Regions from separate parts of the Homo sapiens genome. Here all the other regions are linked to region 2. Evidence: promoter capture Hi-C in 16 types of primary human blood cells and fetal thymus (Javierre and others, 2016). All regions are on one chromosome and are shown on one strand. The core of a region is centred on a gene start or on the middle of the fragment in contact, and the rest is flanking DNA. Distances in the headings are between cores, read along the strand shown. Region 1 overlaps KDM4B (lysine demethylase 4B). Region 2 holds the start of ZNRF4 (zinc and ring finger 4). Region 3 overlaps KDM4B (lysine demethylase 4B).

Region 1 (2,700 bases), core at 16-2,515, 410 kb after region 2:
ACCAAGACCAAGGTCAGGGCGCTTCCGGAATTCCCTTCCCGAAAGAACTGTTGCCTACTCAACGCTGCCCCGCCCCAGCTGTCTCCCCTGAGCCATCTCCCACGACGGGTCATGGGGAAGGGTAGACATGGGAGTGGCAGCTGGACGCCTGCGGCACCAGGCGAAGCAGAGGAGGGGTGCAGTGAGGGGCATTCGGGGAGAGGTGCGGGATGCCCTCAGAGGCTGCGTCCTGGATGAACCAGCTCAGGAGAGGCCCTCGGCTCCTGGCGCATCCCTGTCAGTCCCTCCGACGGCCTGTGGCCGGGCCCCACTGCCGCCTCCAGGGAGCCACTGTCGCCTCCTCCCGCAGAGGCCCCTCTGACCTAGCAGCAGGCACCCCCGGCCCTGGCATCTGACCCATAGCAGCCCCAGCCCCAGGGTCTCCCCCAGCCCAGGCTCCCACGACAGCCAGCAACCCCCGGGGCCCCTCACAGGAGACCGAGCTGCTGGCACTGCAGTCCTTGGCACTGAAGTCCTCACGTCTGACTCACTGGCTGGTCCCCCACCTCCCATGTCCCTGACCCCCCTGCTTCTGTCTGGCTGGGCCTCCTTGCCGGCTGCTCGCCACTTCCCGCCCCACAGGGGCTCTCTGCACAGGGCAGACGGTCCCTATGGAGGCACAAACCCGGTCACACCATGGGCGTCCCGCTGCCCACGCACCCCTGGGAGGCCACGCTTTGCCCCAAGTCACACGGGGTCCTCTACAGGGCCTTTCCCTTGGGCTCCATCTGCGCTTCGGACGCAGGTGAGGATGCGCACAGCTCGCCCCTTCCTGCTCATTGTGCTTTTTTTTAACGAAGAGGTACAGCATTCTCCCCCGCCCCCCCCTCTCCCCGCTTACAACTCCAACCCAGGGAAGGGCCAGGCAAGGCGGAGCTCCCACGCCCTCCAGGCAAAGGCTCCGTCCTCCTCCAGCGCGAGGACGGCCTGGGAAGATTCCAGGCATGAGCGCGGCCCCGGGAAGGGCGGGAGCGCCACCTAGCGGCCCTTGGAGGACAGTGCAGGGCAGCCCCGCGGAGCACCCAGCAGGTTCCGCAGTCACAAGCAGAGCCCGGTGACACAGGGGCACACACACGCATGCATACTCACACTCACTCACGTGCGCACTCACATGCGCGCGCACACGTGCACATTCACACACACCCCCACACGGCCTCGCTGCGACGTGCACAGGGAGCCAGGAGAAGGTCCTGGAACTCAGCCCGCCACAGCAGCGCCCACGCTGCACCCGGCACCTCCCGGGCAGGGGCAGGTCCACCACACTGCACACAGGCCTGCAGCGCCACGCCCTGCCCTCCTAACTGTAGGGCCTGGCCCAGACGTGCCAGGGCGGAGACTGCGAGGGAGCGGCTGCAGGGTCATCCTGGCCAGGCCCCTCTGGGCAGCATGGACAGTGTCCCTTCACCAGGAACGTCTCCACTTGGCTGTGAGGCAGCACAGCCTGGGCAGCTCAGGAGGCTCAAGACCACGCTCCTGGCCATGGGGACACCTGGGGCCGCTCACAGCTCAATGGGGGGCACTCCGGGGTACAAAGCGCAAGCTCTAGGGGCCTGGGAGCTTCGGCTCTGGGGGTGCACATCCCCCACCCCAAAGCTGGTGGGTGACCCCAGGCGGTCCGGAAGATCTCCAGCCGTCATAGGCCGACCTTTGCGGCCTCACCTGGTGGGGCCCCTGCCACGGCGCCCAGCCGTGTACCCGGGATTGACTCCCTCCCGAGGGGCTCTCGGTCCGGCCGGCGGCAGGGCCAGTGCAGACACTCACCAGGACTTAGGCTCCCCAAAGTGCAGGTAGTTGATGCTGTACAGGTCCATGTCCTCGGTGTGCCAGGCGAAGGTGGTCTTCCACATGCCGAAGTACAGGTAGGGCGTGTTCACGCCCTCGATGATGGTGCCGCACTCGCGCTCCACCATGTCCAGGATGGTCCGGAGGCTCCCGATGTTCCACTGGGCCACGTCCTGTGGGGCGGCAGAGCAGCGTCGGCAACCGCCCGGCCACCCCCAGAACCTGCGAGCCCTGGGGTGCAGGCTAATTCTCCCCAGAGTCCCAGGGGTCGCTGCCCATCCTCCTCCACCCCAGTATCTGCGGCCCCCCCAGGGGCCGGTCATACCCTGCAGACCAGGGGCTGGTCTTAACCTGTGTGAGATTCTTGCCCAGGCTGGAGTGCAGTGGCAGAATCATAGCTCACTGCAGCCTCAACCTCCCAGGCTCAGGTAATCCTCCAGCCTCAGTCTCCTGAGTACCTGGGACTATAGGCTATAGGCGTGAGAAACCACACCTGGCTAATTTTTACTTTTTTCTGTGTAGAGATGAAGTCTCACTCTGTTGCCCAGGCTGGTCTCGAACTCCTGGGCTCAATGGTCCCTCCCACTTTGGCCCCTCCAAGCGCTGGGGCTGCAGGCATGAGCCGCCATACCCAGCCCAGACACCTTTTCTGAAGGGCTCACCGCCAGCTTGGCCCTTCCAGGAAGGGCCCCATCGCACATGCCAGCGTGCACCAGGCAGGCAGGGCCTGTCAGATTCCACTGAGCTGCGTGCTTCCTGCTGGGTGGAGGCCTTGTTGTGAAGCCTGCAGTTTGGGAGTGCATAATTAACACGCCTCTAAGTCAATGACACGGAAGGAGAAAAACAGTCACCACTTGGGGCTAACCCAGCGATGGTACC
Region 2 (2,700 bases), core at 199-2,698:
GCTGAGAATCCGCTTTCAAACCCACTTTATTCTTTTCAGACCAGAAACATTCCTCATTGCACCCCCCTCCCTGCCCTAGATCTTTACTGACCAGGGGCCTCAGGAGGGGCTGAGGAGACAGTGGTATACTCTGCCTCCAGGGACGTGGTGCTGCAGTGGCAGTGGGGACTGGCGCGGCCCAGCAGCTCCAGCCTCCGGGAGCGTAGCTGGACTTGAATGGCCCAGATGGGGGGCCGGTGGCCCGGTAGGGAGGGGTCCTCGTCCCTGAAGCTGTAGGTGGTGGAGTCAAAGCTGTCTTCTGTGGCGGCCACCGACTGTTTGCACACGGGGCAGGAGCGCCGGGGGGCTTGGGAGAACCAGGGGTCAATGCATTTGCAGTGGTAGGTGTGGGAGCAGGGCAGGATCTTGAGTTGGTCGCCCTCCTCATACTCATCCAGGCAGATGGCACACAGGTCGTTGTGCCACGTGAAGGTGCGGACCTGGGCCTTCTGGCAGGTAGACGTCTTCACCGGCCGTCTGTGGCTGCAGCAGGCCTGGGCCCAGAGCCACAGGTGGTTCAGGACAAAGAAGGCTGATACGACCAGGGCCAGGGTACAGCCCAGCACCCAGGACACGGTCAGCACGGGGTGACAGCCCAGGTCGTGGCACGGTGGGTCGTCGGGCAGGAGCAGCGCGTGGGCCGACTTGTTGCAGCCCAGGATGACCCGCAGGTCCTGCGAGGCGGCCTCGCTCACGAACACTGAGGGGATGGCGATCTGGCCCCTCAAGTCCTCGTAGACGTGGGTCATGCTCACGAGGTCGTCGGAGTGGACGTTGTGCACGATGGCCGCCTCGAAGCCGGCGCGCTGGGCGTTCAGCACCTTGAGGTCGAAGGTGCAGTCGTAGCGGCGGATCAGCACGATGGCGCCCAGAGAGCGGTTGCCCAGTCGCGGGGCCTCGATGGGATGGCACGCGTTGGCTGGCTTGACCTCCATCAGGTAGCCCCGTATGCCCTCGGGGGCCAGGGGGACGCCGAACAGCGCCGGCAGATCCGCAAAGTCCACCGAGCTCGAGTTGTCTTCCAGCACGGCCCGTACCACTGCCTGCGCGGGCACCTGGAGCAGCGACAAGACCAGCAAGGCTTTGACTGCCACGAGGGCTCGGCCCGGCCGTGGCCACCCCATGGTCACCCGCTTCGCTGTCTGTGTGCTGCTAGGTCCCACTGGAGGCGGCAGGCATGAGGCCTTTGGGCATCTCCGGGGTCTCCCAGGGGGCCTGTGGCCAGGACGCGAGGGCAGTTGAGTTGGAATGACCGCGTGGCTCAGAGGCAGTGACGCGGCCACTGGGACCCTGCTGGCTCTAGGCATTAAGTGCTCCGGACGGCAGAGCGGCATGCGTCGTGTCTTTGAAGGCCGGTCTCAGGAGGTGCTGGCGCAGGTGGCCTTTCTGGCAGATGACATGGAGACCAGGAGTCACCAGGGTTCTAGATGCCCCCAGCTTCTGTGACATCGCCCTGCTACATTCTGTCCCAGGAGCTGCCAGCTGCCTGGGCCTGTGGCCAATGGATCATTCCTAGGTCTGTGATTTGCCGGTACCCGGGCAAGCTTTGAGATAACTTCTTGAAGGCTCAGGGTATCTTTGGACCCAAGGAGGCCCAGGGATGCTTCAAAAGGGCTGCCGGCCCCCAGCAGTGCAGATTCAGCCCTCACTGTGCGAAGACGCTACCAGCATCAGCTTCTGGAGGTTCCTAGCAACACACTGTAGAAGGTTCAATGTTACCCTTGTCTGAGACTCCAAGAGTGACCCAGACTTGTTCAAGCCACGCCCCCCTACAATGAGATCAGTGCTTAAAACCCAAATTCCTGACCCCCTGTCACCATCCCTCACTCTGCTCCAGCCACACAGATCTCCTTGCTGTTCCTCCAACACACCAGGCAGGATCCTGCCCCAGGGCCTTTGCATGGGCTGGGCCTCCTGCCTGGAAAGCCCTTTCTCTCCGTAGCTGGCTCTTTTATCCGGACTCAGGTCTGAGTCCATATATCCTCAGAGCCCTCCTGGACTTGATTTGGAGGGAGAGTCAAGTGCCAGGGTCAGGGTGGGGCTGGTGGGGGTCAGTGGTCCCAAGTCCGCACCGCCAGGTTGGCCTCCAGGCTTGCACCAGCTTCATTCTCTCTCCCTATAGCATTGCCTCTCCAGCTGGGTCTCCAACTGTGCCCCCTGCCTGAGCTTCAGCCCTGGGCATCAGCCTCACCTCCTCCCCAGTCCCCATCCCCCAAATTTCACACCCTCAATCTGTCTGCAGCCCACTCAAGTCGGATTTCTGTCTCTGCCATTCATAAGCTGTATGACATCAGCTAAATTCCTTAGCCTCTCTGGGCCTCAGCTTCCAGACCTGTAACATAGTCTTTCCCATGCTCTAAACTCTCCCATGGCTCCCCATTGCCCTCCAGATAAAGCCCACACTCTTCTCTGTGGCCTACATGCACCCCTGTGGTTGGGCGCCTGCCAATCTCTGAAGCCTGGATGATTTGCAATGTCCCAGAGGCATCTTGCTTTGTTCACCTCTAGAATTTTGCAAATGCTGTTCCCTCTGCCTGGAACAGAATTCTTGCTCCTCAACTTCACTTTGCCAGGCTGACTACTTAGTCTTTAGATTTTCTGTGTTGGCCTAATACCTCTCAGAGCAGCCCTCAGCCAGTGACAGATGGGAGGTGGTAGATA
Region 3 (2,767 bases), core at 168-2,667, 340 kb after region 2:
GGGTTGGGGGGATGTGAGGCTGGCAGCTGGGCCCCACTGCTGACCCCAGGAAGGCGCCTCCCTTCTGCCCAGAGCCACCCACTGTCTTCTGCTGGTTGCCCCCACATCCCCCCAGCACCCCCAGGGGCTGCCCATGTTTGCCCGCTGTGTCTTTCTGAGGCCCCGTGGTACATTCCCCCTGCAGCCCTCCAGGAGCTGCCCATGTCTGCCCACTGTGTCTTTCTGTGGCCCCATGGTGCAGCCCAGCTGCTCCCTGCTGGCTGTCCTCCTGGTTGCCGGCCCATGGGGTCTCCTGCCCACCCTTCCCTGCTTTTCAAAGCCTGGAGACGTGCTCAGCTGCCACTGCCCCCTCTCCCGTTCTCTGCACTTCACTCTCTGGTGTTTCAGTGGCGTTTCAGGAGAGAGTGGAGATAAATAAGCACTTAGCCTGCCAGGCTTAACTGGACGCCGCTGGGCTCATTCCTATGAGCCAAATGTCGGGACATAGTCCAGATAACTGCACTAATATTTCCAAGGTGGAAGCAGGTGTCCTTTGCAGCTTGTATGGCAGGAGGCGGGGTGGACGGCCTCTGGCCCTGTCACCCAGTAACACAGGGCACCTGCAGCACCCAGAGTGGGACCATCAGCATTCAGTGCCGCGCTGGCTCAGGGCTTCTCACAAGGTGGGGAGGACTGGGAGGCTGGCCCCAGGCTGAGCCCTCAGAGCCGCCCACCCCCGACCCAAAGTGGCCCAGTGCTCCCCACCCCCAAGACTAGACCCTGTGCTGAGGAATTTCACCTTTGAGAAAATGAAGGGCAGCTCTAGGAAAGAGACAGGAGACAGCAAGTGAGTCCCTGAGGCTGCGCACTCCCTGCAGGGGCTGGCAGGTCCCTGTGCTCGTGAGGTTCTGTCCCTGAGGGCTGAGGTCCCTGTTGGTGGGGAGGGCTCAGGAATGCAGCTGGGGTGTGGCAGCCGTGGCAGCCCTGGCAGGAGTCGGGGCCAGAGGCGTGGCGGTGTCCTGCACTGGCGCAGGGGCGACAGGCCAAGGCAGAGCAGGAGGGGACAGGCAGCACCGAGCTCGGAGGGGTAGGGGAGACGAGGCCTGGGCCCAGCCGGGCTCACAGAGCAGCAGTGGGCCAGGGAGGCTGTGGTGAGGCGGGTGCACAGATGTCCTGCAGGGAGCGCGTACCTGCTGGAGCACGTGCACATGGCGCTTCTCGCGTGGAAAGAGTTTGCATGGAGGAGCGTCGCGTGGGTGCCAGAGAGCACTGTGAGGGCTCCGGCTCAGGCAGGGCACCAGAACGCACAGCGCCACCGGGAGTGGGGAGGCTGAGGGCACCCGCCAGGAGCCAGGCTGCAGTTTTAGGCGACCCATCCATCAGGGGGAAGAATACAAACAGCCCCCAACGCTCGCTCAACGAGATTTAGTTCTGGAAGAGACCCATGTAAGGTGGCGAGCAGGGAGTAGGCCGTGTCCTCTGAGCTCAGGCAGCTGTGCCGAACCATCCGCACCCCATGGGGCACCTGGTAAACACATGAGGGCCATCCCACAGCCACGCCGAGGGCAGGGAAGGCTGGACTGCACGGGGGTGAGGGCATGGCGCCCACCCTGATGCCATCCCTTGGTCTAGGGCAGGGGTTCCCACGCGGGGGACTGGGCGATGTCTAGGGACATCTGTGGTTGTCACGACTTGGGGCACTCCTGGCATGGAGTGGGTGGAGGCCAGGGATACTGCTCATTACCCTGCAGGGCCCAGGATGCTCCCCCAACCAGAGAAGGATCCCGCCTGTGTCCACAAGCCCCTTGTCTGGGAGACAGAGCCAGTCCACTGTGTCTCCCGATCCAGCCTGAGCCACAGATGCTCAGACAGGGCTGCCCTGGCCCCAAGATATGCCCTCAGGGAGGGAGCCTGGCTCAGGGGAAAAGGCAGGCCACGTGGAGAGGGCACTGCTCAGGGGGGAACCGACCACCTCCCTGGTGGAGGGAGGGGCAGCTTGGGCTTTGGAACGTGAGTCACCCATCTGCCTCTCCAGAGAAAAGCACCCCCAATGACTTTAAAAAAAAAAAAAAAAAGTGAATCAGCCTTGTTTTACATACTGAAGGCTTTCAAGAAAATTATATCCTTGGGAAGCTGACTTCATTTGTTATTCAGGCTTGCTGCTGGGTGAAGGCAGCCCCCAGGATGGCGGCGCGGGAGAGGGCGGGAGGGGGCTCCTGGGAGGAGCAGGTCGTGACTAGAAGTGAGGGGGTGGCCGGGGCAGGGAGGCCAGGCCAGGCCACGCAAGGGCTGGTTCTGGGGGGTCCACTTCCTGCGTGCAAAGAAGGTTCCAAGCAGCGGTGAGCGCAGCGGCTTCCGCATCTCCTCCTGGCAGGCAATTTAGACGGCCTCTAGTCCCATTCCACTCCTGGAACGTGGTGCCGGTTTATTGGCAATCCACTCTGTTGACCAATTAGCCTGAGCCACAATCAATTAACCATTATGCAAATAGCACGTCTGGCTGGGCCTGGGAGCTGGGGTGCACGAGCTCTGTGCTGCGGGGGCCGCCTGGAGTAGCCTCACCAGGAGGCAGCTCTTCATGAGGAGCACACAGGAGGCAGGAAATCAAAAGGACAGAACAAGAGCAGAAGAGACAGATTCACCTTGGCAGGGCTGTCAGGAGGGGCTGTGAAAACACTCGGGGCAGAGGGAACATTCTCCGAGAGAGGCCGCGAGGTGGGGAAGACAGAGGAGGCCGAGACAGATGCCCAGACCGCCCAGGAGTCCCAGACTCACAGACAGATGGACG

Evidence for each region. Contacts are between HindIII fragments. The CHiCAGO score rates a contact against its expected background, and 5 or more counts as called.
Region 1: a contact is called between a fragment that was not itself captured here and the fragment with the promoter of ZNRF4 in region 2, in 4 of 17 cell types (naive CD4 T cells, naive CD8 T cells, total CD8 T cells and 1 more). The highest score is 6.7, in naive CD4 T cells.
Region 3: a contact is called between a fragment that was not itself captured here and the fragment with the promoter of ZNRF4 in region 2, in 1 of 17 cell types (M0 macrophages). The highest score is 5.2, in M0 macrophages.

Annotation. Positions count from the first base shown.
Region 1 is chr19:5,046,770-5,049,469 of GRCh38, reverse strand. It overlaps KDM4B (lysine demethylase 4B), which reads right to left. Exons shown (of 23, transcript NM_015015.3): 6 at 1,801-1,994. Among named protein-coding and RNA genes, the nearest start is that of KDM4B, 79 kb to the right of the region's middle. RefSeq lists enhancers at 1-559, 2,053-2,700. The HindIII fragment of the contact is 3,979 bases long and covers 1-2,700 here.
Region 2 is chr19:5,454,165-5,456,864 of GRCh38, reverse strand. ZNRF4 (zinc and ring finger 4) reads right to left here and starts at 1,448. Exons shown (of 1, transcript NM_181710.4): 1 at 9-1,448. The coding sequence starts at 1,373. The coding sequence ends at 84. The HindIII fragment of the contact is 7,810 bases long and covers 1-1,585 here.
Region 3 is chr19:5,112,624-5,115,390 of GRCh38, reverse strand. All of the region lies in intron 10 of KDM4B (lysine demethylase 4B), which reads right to left. Among named protein-coding and RNA genes, the nearest start is that of PTPRS-AS1, 64 kb to the left of the region's middle. RefSeq lists enhancers at 1-268, 269-1,224. The HindIII fragment of the contact is 4,202 bases long and covers 1-2,767 here.